Linked DNA regions of Homo sapiens: region 2 is linked to region 1. Evidence: promoter capture Hi-C in human tissues and cell types (Jung and others, 2019). All regions are on one chromosome and are shown on one strand. The core of a region is centred on a gene start or on the middle of the fragment in contact, and the rest is flanking DNA. Distances in the headings are between cores, read along the strand shown. Region 1 holds the start of BARX2 (BARX homeobox 2). Region 2 overlaps BARX2 (BARX homeobox 2).

Region 1 (4,331 bases), core at 1,142-3,641:
CTTTGACCGCGGACCAGCCTCAGGGTCCCGCCGCGGAAGCAGGGGGCGCGCCTGGGGCCAGCCTGTAGACCCCAGAGTCCGGCGGCAGGACCCCCGGCGCCACCCGGACACCTGGCAGCAGTTCTCGCCTGCCCTGCAGCCGCCTCTGCATGGAGAAAGAGAATGAAAGAAAACAATTCTAGATGGAGAGGAGGGGAGGGGAGGCCAGTTTGCAAATACTTCGGGAATGAAGTTCCTCAAAGACGCGTTGCGGGCCTTGTCTAATGCTAGGCTGTGACTTGGCCTCTTAACATCTATTTTCTCACGCCTGTAATCCCAGCACTTTGGGAGGCGAAGCGGGTGAATCACGAGGTCAGGAGTTCAAGACCAGCCTGGCCAAGATGGTGAAACCTGGTCTCTACTAAAAAATACAAAAGTTAGCCGGGCGCGGTGACAGGCGCCTGTAATCCCAGCTTCTCGGGAGACTGAGGCAGGAGAATCGCTTGAACCTGGGGGGCAGAGGTTGCAATGAGGCGAGATCACGCCACTGCACTCCAGCCTGGGCGACAGAGTGAGGCTCGGTCTCAAAAAAAAAAGAAAAAATCTATTTTCTCTAACAGCCTAATGATTAGTCCTCTGGGCGTGTCCCTCCCTCCTAGTTTAATCACCGGCCCAGGCGCCCTCATTTACTTGCTTCCGCGGCCACCAGGGCCCCCTGGGCAAGCAGCTCCGCAGAGAGCCCGCCGGCACTCGCGGACGCTTCTAGGCTGGGAGCGGGGAGGAAATGTCACCGGCCCCAAACTCGGCCCTAGGGAAGGCCATCCGCGTCTATACTTCTCAGTGTCCCTGTCGTGCGTTTTCCTTCCAACCCCATGCACACTCATTCCAACATAAAGTCGTGGAAACGGGCGTGCACTGGGCTGTTCCCGCCGAACACCGGGCGCGACTCAGGCTGCCGGAGGCTTCCCGGGCGCGGAGGCTCGGCGGGGTCCCCTTTACGCAGCAATTCCAATGAACAACTAAAGTCCGTACAGATTTTGATTGGAACAGACCCTAAGACTAAGAGCCTGGAAAGAAAAAGGCAAATCACCCAATAAACGCCTGTCTTCGCGACTCTCTAACCCGGTCGTATCGCGAGGGATCCGGATATTGAAAGCCCCTTTGCCGGAAGACTCGGGCGCTGGGAGAAGCCCGCATGGGACAGGCTGCCCCAGTGCCCGCCGGCTCCCTAGAATCGTGCAGCTCTGACCCTTTCCAACGAGGAAAAAATGTTTTTATAAACAATGTTTTAAAAAAAACCGCACACTTTTTTAAAAAGTCAGAATCTCGCTCTTGTCGCCCAGGCTGGAGTGCAGTGACGAGATCCCGGCTCACTGCAGCCGCGAACTCCTGGGCTCAAGATTTCCTCCTGCCTAAACCTCTCCAATAGCTGGGACTACAGGTTTCCTCTTGCCTCAACCTCTCCAGTAGCTGGGACTACAGGCGTGCACCACCATGCCTGTTTTTAATTTTTCTTTTGTAAAGACAGGGTCTCCCTATATTGACCAGGCTGGTCTCGAACCTCTGACCTCAAGCTATCGTCTCACGTCGGCCTCCCAAATGTTGGGATTACAGGCTTGAGCCACCGCGCCCGGCGATAACTCACACTTTTATTAGTTTTTCTTTTCTTATCTTTTTTTTTTTCTCAGTTTTTTATGAGGGTAACGGACGGGGCCAGGGTCATTTATGATTTGGGATCTTGGGGCAGTCAAGTTTGCAACTTCAGCTCAAAAGTCTTACGCTCGGAGCGCGCAGGCTCAGCGCGGGCTGCGAGACTGCGAGTGGAGGGCTTGGGAAGCCGCGGTCTTCGGGAAACCGTCCACGCGGGGAAGGAGAAAGGCACGGTGGGTCCTCGGGGGCACTGGCTCTGTGGCCCGAAGTCCCGGGAGCCTAGTGAGGACTAGACTTCTTTCTAGTAAGAGACCTGAACGTGCCCTCCCGCTGGGCTGCGGACACTGGGAGCCGGGCCGGCGGGTGGCAGGACAGGCAGTAAGGTGCTCATGGGGAACACTGCCCCGGGGAGCTACCGGCCTGGGCCTTGGCCGCGGGCTGGGGCGGTGCGCGCTCCCCGCACCGCGCGCACACTCCTGCACACACACCTGGAGCGCGTCCCGGGGGGGAGGGGGAGGAGAGCCAAAACGAGCGTCTTAAAATAGAGAGCCAGGCAGAGGAGCGCGAGACACCAGAGCGGGAGGCAGCGACTGAGAGCCGCCGGGCACTAGGCGCGCAGGTCGGCGCCGGAGTGGCACGGGCGGGCGGGGGCGGGGTGGGCGCGGACGCCCCTCAGCACACACTCCGCACCCGGCCCTGCAGGAAGCTCGCGCTGATTGACAGCTGCGTTGTCCCAAAAAGGCTCAGCGAAGATGCTGATCTGCGGGTGGGTCTAGACGCGCGGCAGGCGCGCCCGCTACCCGCTCTCCTCCGCGCGCCACCCGAGCCCCGCCGCCTCCCCAGCTGCCGGGAGCGGGGCCCAGGCCCCGCCGTCGCGCCAGCCCCGCGGCCCCAGCGGGCCGGGCACTCGCAGCCGCGCTCGGGCCGGCGGACGCTCGCGCCGGCTCACCATGCACTGCCACGCCGAGCTGAGGCTGAGCTCGCCCGGCCAGCTCAAAGCAGCCAGGCGGCGCTACAAGACTTTCATGATCGACGAGATCCTCTCCAAGGAGACCTGCGATTACTTTGAGAAACTTTCCCTCTACTCCGTGTGCCCGTCGCTGGTCGTGCGACCCAAGCCCCTGCATTCCTGTACGGGTAAGACGCTCCGCTAGGGGATAAGTGGGGTTCGGTAGCTTTCACGTCCGTGTAGGTGGCCTGTGCTTTGCGATCCGAGGGCGAGAGGAAGGGTTAAGTTAAGGGATTCTTTTCCTGCGCCTCAGCAAGCGGTGGGCATTGCAAAGGCATCTGCGACGTGGCCGGGAAGGACCACGCAAGGTGTGGATGGCACGAGTGGAAATAAAGGCGGCAGGGCCTTAGGAGTGGGCTGCTCGCGCAACGCCTGATTGTCCTGCTCGGAGGAGAACGCTTCCTCGTTTCCTGCTGAAAGTTCAAACACTTGAGCAGGTTCAGCGTCTAAATCGTTGTTTCAGGAAGTGGTGGTGTGTGTGAATTTCAAACTTGAGCTTGGCGGCCTTGCATCTCACCTTGAGTTAACTTGTCCAGCCTCCTACTGTCTCCACTGTGAATTTTGCAAGTAAATCAGTATCCTGAGGTTCTCAACAAAATCTCGAATTCACTGAGCTTTGCTTACAATGATCGCCCTCTGAGAAAGTAGTTCTGAAGTACATTGTCTTTGTGGCACAAGCCGAAAAGGTCACCCTCGTTTGTCTTAAGTCAAGCCGAAAAGGTCACCCTCGTTTGTCTTAAGTGACCAAAACCAGCAATGGTAACAATGAAAACATTACTCACACCTGGTTTTCTCTCTTCACGGGAGGTAAGAGCAATAGTAAAGATAAAGAGAACTTAATACATATATTGAAAACGTAGTAGAGTTTCTATCGAAAATAAATCCAAGGTACTTTTAAAATTTTGAATGCATTAAGAGAAGATCCAAGTTTCAAAGTATCTCGGCATTGTTAGGATTTAGGTTATGGAACATGGGTATAATAAAACGAAAAAGAAGTAGGAGCACTTTTTATCAGAAAAAAGTTATTGAGTGTGCTTTCCATTAAAGGTAAGCATAAAGTATTTCCAAACCAAAAGAACCTTTGAGATTGTTAGTTGCATGAGAGGCATGAGATAAATTAAATTACACTTAAAATGAAAAAATGAAGGGCCAACAGTTTTGGAAGATATTTTTTGGAACATTTGAGTTGTTAATGCTCAATGCGTGGAATCCTGTATTTTCTCTTGGTTCCATTGATAGTCCCTATATGACAATCAGTAAACATATGATAAATACATACAGTGAAGTTCTTTTAAAACCAAATTGTTCCTACATGTATTTGGTTGTAAAATGTATACTGTATTCAGTTATGCCTTTTTAAAGTTAATTTGTCTGTAAGGTAGAATTAGGCCTGATGTCCCATAACAAGCCTTGTAATACTGAATTTTTAAAACCAAGAAATATATGAAACAAGGAACAAATAAGAAATTTTAGAAACAAGATAGATCTCCTGAGAACTGATATTTTTACATTTGTGTATAGGTGGTTGTGGACCCTTGGACACATACATACTGAATAGGGGTGATAAGTTGAATATTGTTTTGAGCACAAATCATCCTTTGTTATAATAACTCAATTCCCTTCGAGGAAAAAGAGAGGATCTGTTTCAGTCATTAACATTGCGTATGGGACATTCCCAGGACAAAACAGAACA
Region 2 (4,331 bases), core at 1,265-3,764, 33 kb after region 1:
AAAAATAATAAATGGATGGTACTAAATCATGATAAACACACATTCATCTGAAATTCCTTGTGCCCATTGTTTTAAACAAACATTTAAGGAGCTCTTCATTCATAAAAGTCACACAAATCTCATTTAATTCTTACAGTAATCCTACAGCAAGTTTCTTTTGTCTTTATTACTTTTGTCTTCATTTTCACAGTTTAGAAAAATGGCTCAAAGAGATTAATTCCTTCAGGGCTACCCAACTTGGTAGTAGCAGAGTCTAAACACAAATTCAGGTCTACCCGACACCAGAGTGCACACTCATATTCCCGGGCTGTATTGTTCCTTGGGTGACCTATGTAGAGATACAAGGTGAATAAGGCACAGTTCCAGCTTCTAAGGAGCCTCCAGCTAGTGGGGAGACAGATGTGCAAGCAACAGTTGTATTGCAGTAACATAGCTAGTGTAGGAGAGGTGGCTGCTGTGACAGTGCTTGGGGAGGTGGAGGAGGGAGGACACTGCAGGCACCTCCCAAGGCTCTGCTCTCTGAGAAGGGACCCTGAAGGAGGTGGACCCCCCAGTCCTGGGCTAACCAGCCTCAACGGTGATTGAGTTCATAACTGCCTCTTTAGTTCAGTTGAGCCTGCATGTCATGGCAAACTAGGACATCGACCCTCAGTTTTTGGATTCACATGAAATAATTGATGATGATGATGTTGATGATGACAGAATGGGAGCAAAGGGACCACTGGAGTAATTAAAGAACTGGTTTTATAGGAATATTTTAAAAATCAGGTTAAAAAAATGCAACTGTGACTTTCTTCTGTTTTCAAGTATCCAACCCATGGAGTTGGAAGCACTTAGTGGGCAGCTAATTAATAAAGCTGACAGTGGTCTACTTTATATCCTACTACGGGAAGGATATTCTAGGATATGTTGGGCACACACCTCTGCTCTTGCGTATATTCCAGTATAGACTCTAAGTCCTACAGCTTGCGAATGGGACCTCAGAAGTCACTTGTTTAACCTCCTGCATGCTGTAGAGCCTTCACCCACAGAGCCTCAGAGCCTCCATGGTGGTCTCAGTCTCTGCTTGAATACGGCTGGTGGAGAGGACAGCTTCCTATAACCCTACTCAGTCACATCAGACCAAACTCCTACATCTTCATGTAACACATTTGAGAAACCTCAGTTGAGCACCTGTTTTGCGTATGATGCTATTTACTAGTGATACAAGTTGAAGAAGACACAGCTTTCCCTCATTAGGGGCTCATTTAGTTCTATTAGCAATTCCTTAGATGACGTTGTTTCCAAACCCATCCCTGCTCTCAATACCCTCTTTTGCAGAGTTACAGGTCATTTAAAACCTGACTTCAAAATTGGACATAACACTTTATGCACAGTCTATGCTTTGCACTTCTGTTGAGACTTGCGCTAGGATCAGCCCAAATCCCATGTTTTACTCATCCCCACTTCACAGACAGCTGTGAAATCAGATGTTTTTCATATTATACTTATTAGTGGATAATACAGTTCAGTAAACTTTGAGTACCTACTAAATATGCAGCACTCTACTAAATGTTGTCTCGAAAATATGATTCTGGACTAAGATGCAGTTTTTGGATTCAAGTTCAGTCCAGTAGGAAAGACATGCATAAACAGAAATTATCCATACAGTGTGGTAGGGGTGTGATAAAAATGCATGCAAGATGCTCATCAAACACGGAGGAAAGGCTCTTACCCCTCACTTGCAGTGGAGGAGGGTGTGGATGGGGTCAGAGAAGCACCCTGGAGGATTTGGCGCCTCTGTTAAAGGTTGGAGCACAGGCTGGGCGCGGTGGCTCACACCTGTAATCCCAGCACTTTGGGAGGCCAAGGCGGGCCGATCATGAGGTAAGGAGATTGAGACAGAGCCAGACTCCGTCTCAAAAAAAAAAAAAAAAAAAAAAAAAAAGTTGGAGCACAGATGAAAGCTAACCAAGTGAAGAAGGAGAAGCGGGCAAACAGAACAACCTCTGCAGGAGTATGGCATGGAAAGGCCTGGGGCATTTGGGGGACTGACAGAAGGACTAGAACAATACATTTGGTGATTAGAGAAGAAGCTAAAGAGATTGGATTCCTGAAAGCCACTGGAAGATATATTCGGTTCTGTTGATGTTAGTCCATTTTAAGCTTTAAAAATCCCGATGATGTCATGCAATACATTACTTTTTTTGTGACATGAGATTTGATAGAATACCTTTTTTGTTTCTAGACACATTTTAGTAAAAATTTAGTAAAAATATTGAAAAAGGAATAATAAAACAAGGACCACAGCCCCTCACAGGCCCTAGAAGATAGCCATTAATCAACCCGCACAGGGATGCTTAGCTCACAGTGCGTCGGTTTTGTTCCTGCATGACCTGGCCCTGCCTGTCTCTTCACTGTGCTTCATCCACATCCTCTTTGCTGTTCCTAGAACATAAGCTTTTCCGTGTTTCTGGCTCTTAACCTATGTTGTTCCACTCTCTGGAACACTCTCTGGCTGGTGCTTTTCAGCCTTTCGATTTCTTCTGAAATGTCTCCTCTTTGGAGACTATCTCGGCCTCCCCACCCTCAGCCTCCCCCATACATGCTCCATCACTGAAGCCTGTTTATTCCTTTCATGGTACAGTATTTACCCCAAGTCATGATTAAATATCTGTTTATATATTTCTTTATTGGATTATTTGTTTATTTTTCTCTCTCTAGACTGCAAGCTCCTTGAGCAGACCATGTTTATTTTGTCTACCACAGGTGCTCAATAAATATTTTTGACTATTTATTACATGAGAAGGTTTCCATGCAAACACCCATTGAATACGATTGAACTTGAACCCTAAGAGATGGGCTGTGACCTTTGTTGCCCTCAAACTAATCAAAGGGGAGTGATATTCACCATCCAGAATCTAGAATAACTTAGACCTTGTGGGCCAGGAGCTAGCTACCCATATGATAATACAAGAGCTCTCAGAGAAATCATGGAAGTTTTGAGCAATCTCTCTCTCCCTTTGCTAATTTACTTTTCAAAACTGAAGTATAATGGAATAACTTCCCCACCTCTCAAATGTCAGCATGCTCTGAAATTTCATGTTCTCTCAGGCGAGCGATTCATGTTTTCCATCCCACCCACCGTTCTCTGCCTTGTGTTTAAGGATGTGAGTGATAGTCTATCTACTAGTCTAGGATGCTACTGAAAAGTAAAGCAACCAAATACTTGCTTTTAGTGAATTCTTCAGTGTGTTTTTTTTAAGGGCTCAAGCACAATTTTTAAACGGTCTGTTCTAGGATCTCTATCATCCCCCACCACATACACATTCCCCCCACCCTCCAGGGGCTTGGTAACCAAGCTGACTAAACCATAGGCTTGTTTCTCTTTTATGAAACAGGAACATCTTTTAGATGACGTGGTGAAAAGTGAATATATTTGATGGGATAATTGCTGTCCATTCACCATTTTTAGGATTGATAACTTTGGAAGAGCTGGTAAAGGTTAAGTTCTGCCTTAGAGAAACTTTTACCAGTAGCTGTTCTTTTATTGTGCTTTTATTGTGATATCAAAAGTGCACGTGGCCTGGTTTGATTTTTTCCCCTCTTTGCAAACTTTTAGGACTTGATTTCCATCCTGTTTCCTGAAACTTTAAAATGATCTGCATTTTGGTGAGTCTTTTTTCATTCATTGTTAAGATGGCCAATTCATCTTATTCACCTGCAGTTAAGAAATATTCTGTTATAGTCTTTTATTTATAATTTCCTCCATTATTTTTTCTTGGAATTTCTACCAATTGGATATTACAAGTCCTAGGTTGATCCACTAATTTTCTTATCTTTCTCTTCCCATTTCTCTACTTTGTATTCTGACTCTGTGTCCTATCTTAGAACCTTGACTTAACTTATATGGGCCTTAATAGCCTCATCTATAAAATGGAATTATTGATGGTACCTTTTTACAAAGATCAAATGTCAATGTACATTTACAAATGAATAGAAAATGTTTATGGAACAGTACCTAGTGTTGTTAATATTACTTTCTACAGATTTGTCTTTGCTCTACTATTGTTAATATTATATTCTATATCCTTGCGTTTTAATCTATTTTTTATTTTTTCCTCAATTTGATCTTCCAGCTGTCTTCTACTTTGAAAATTCAGCTATCATATTTTTATTTTCCAAAAGTTATTTCTTGTTCTCGAATTGTTTCCTTTTTGAAATCACATACTATTTCCTGGATACAGTATTTTTTCTCATCTCTCTGAGGATGTTAATGACAGCTTTCTTTATAAGTTTTTCTTCTACCCCCTGAATTCCCTCTGATTATGCCAGTTTCCTTTTTTCCACCT

What was found. Contacts are between HindIII fragments. The study calls those that stand out against the background at their distance.
Region 2: a fragment that was not itself captured here is called in contact with the fragment with the promoter of BARX2 in region 1 in 2 of the 25 tissues and cell types used here (pancreas and spleen).

Annotation. Positions count from the first base shown.
Region 1 is chr11:129,373,457-129,377,787 of GRCh38, forward strand. It overlaps BARX2 (BARX homeobox 2), which reads left to right and starts at 2,392. Exons shown (of 4, transcript NM_003658.5): 1 at 2,392-2,766. The coding sequence starts at 2,580. The HindIII fragment of the contact is 19,007 bases long and covers 1-4,331 here.
Region 2 is chr11:129,406,121-129,410,451 of GRCh38, forward strand. The region is part of intron 1 of BARX2 (BARX homeobox 2); the gene reads left to right. Among named protein-coding and RNA genes, the nearest start is that of BARX2, 32 kb to the left of the region's middle. The HindIII fragment of the contact is 4,239 bases long and covers 396-4,331 here.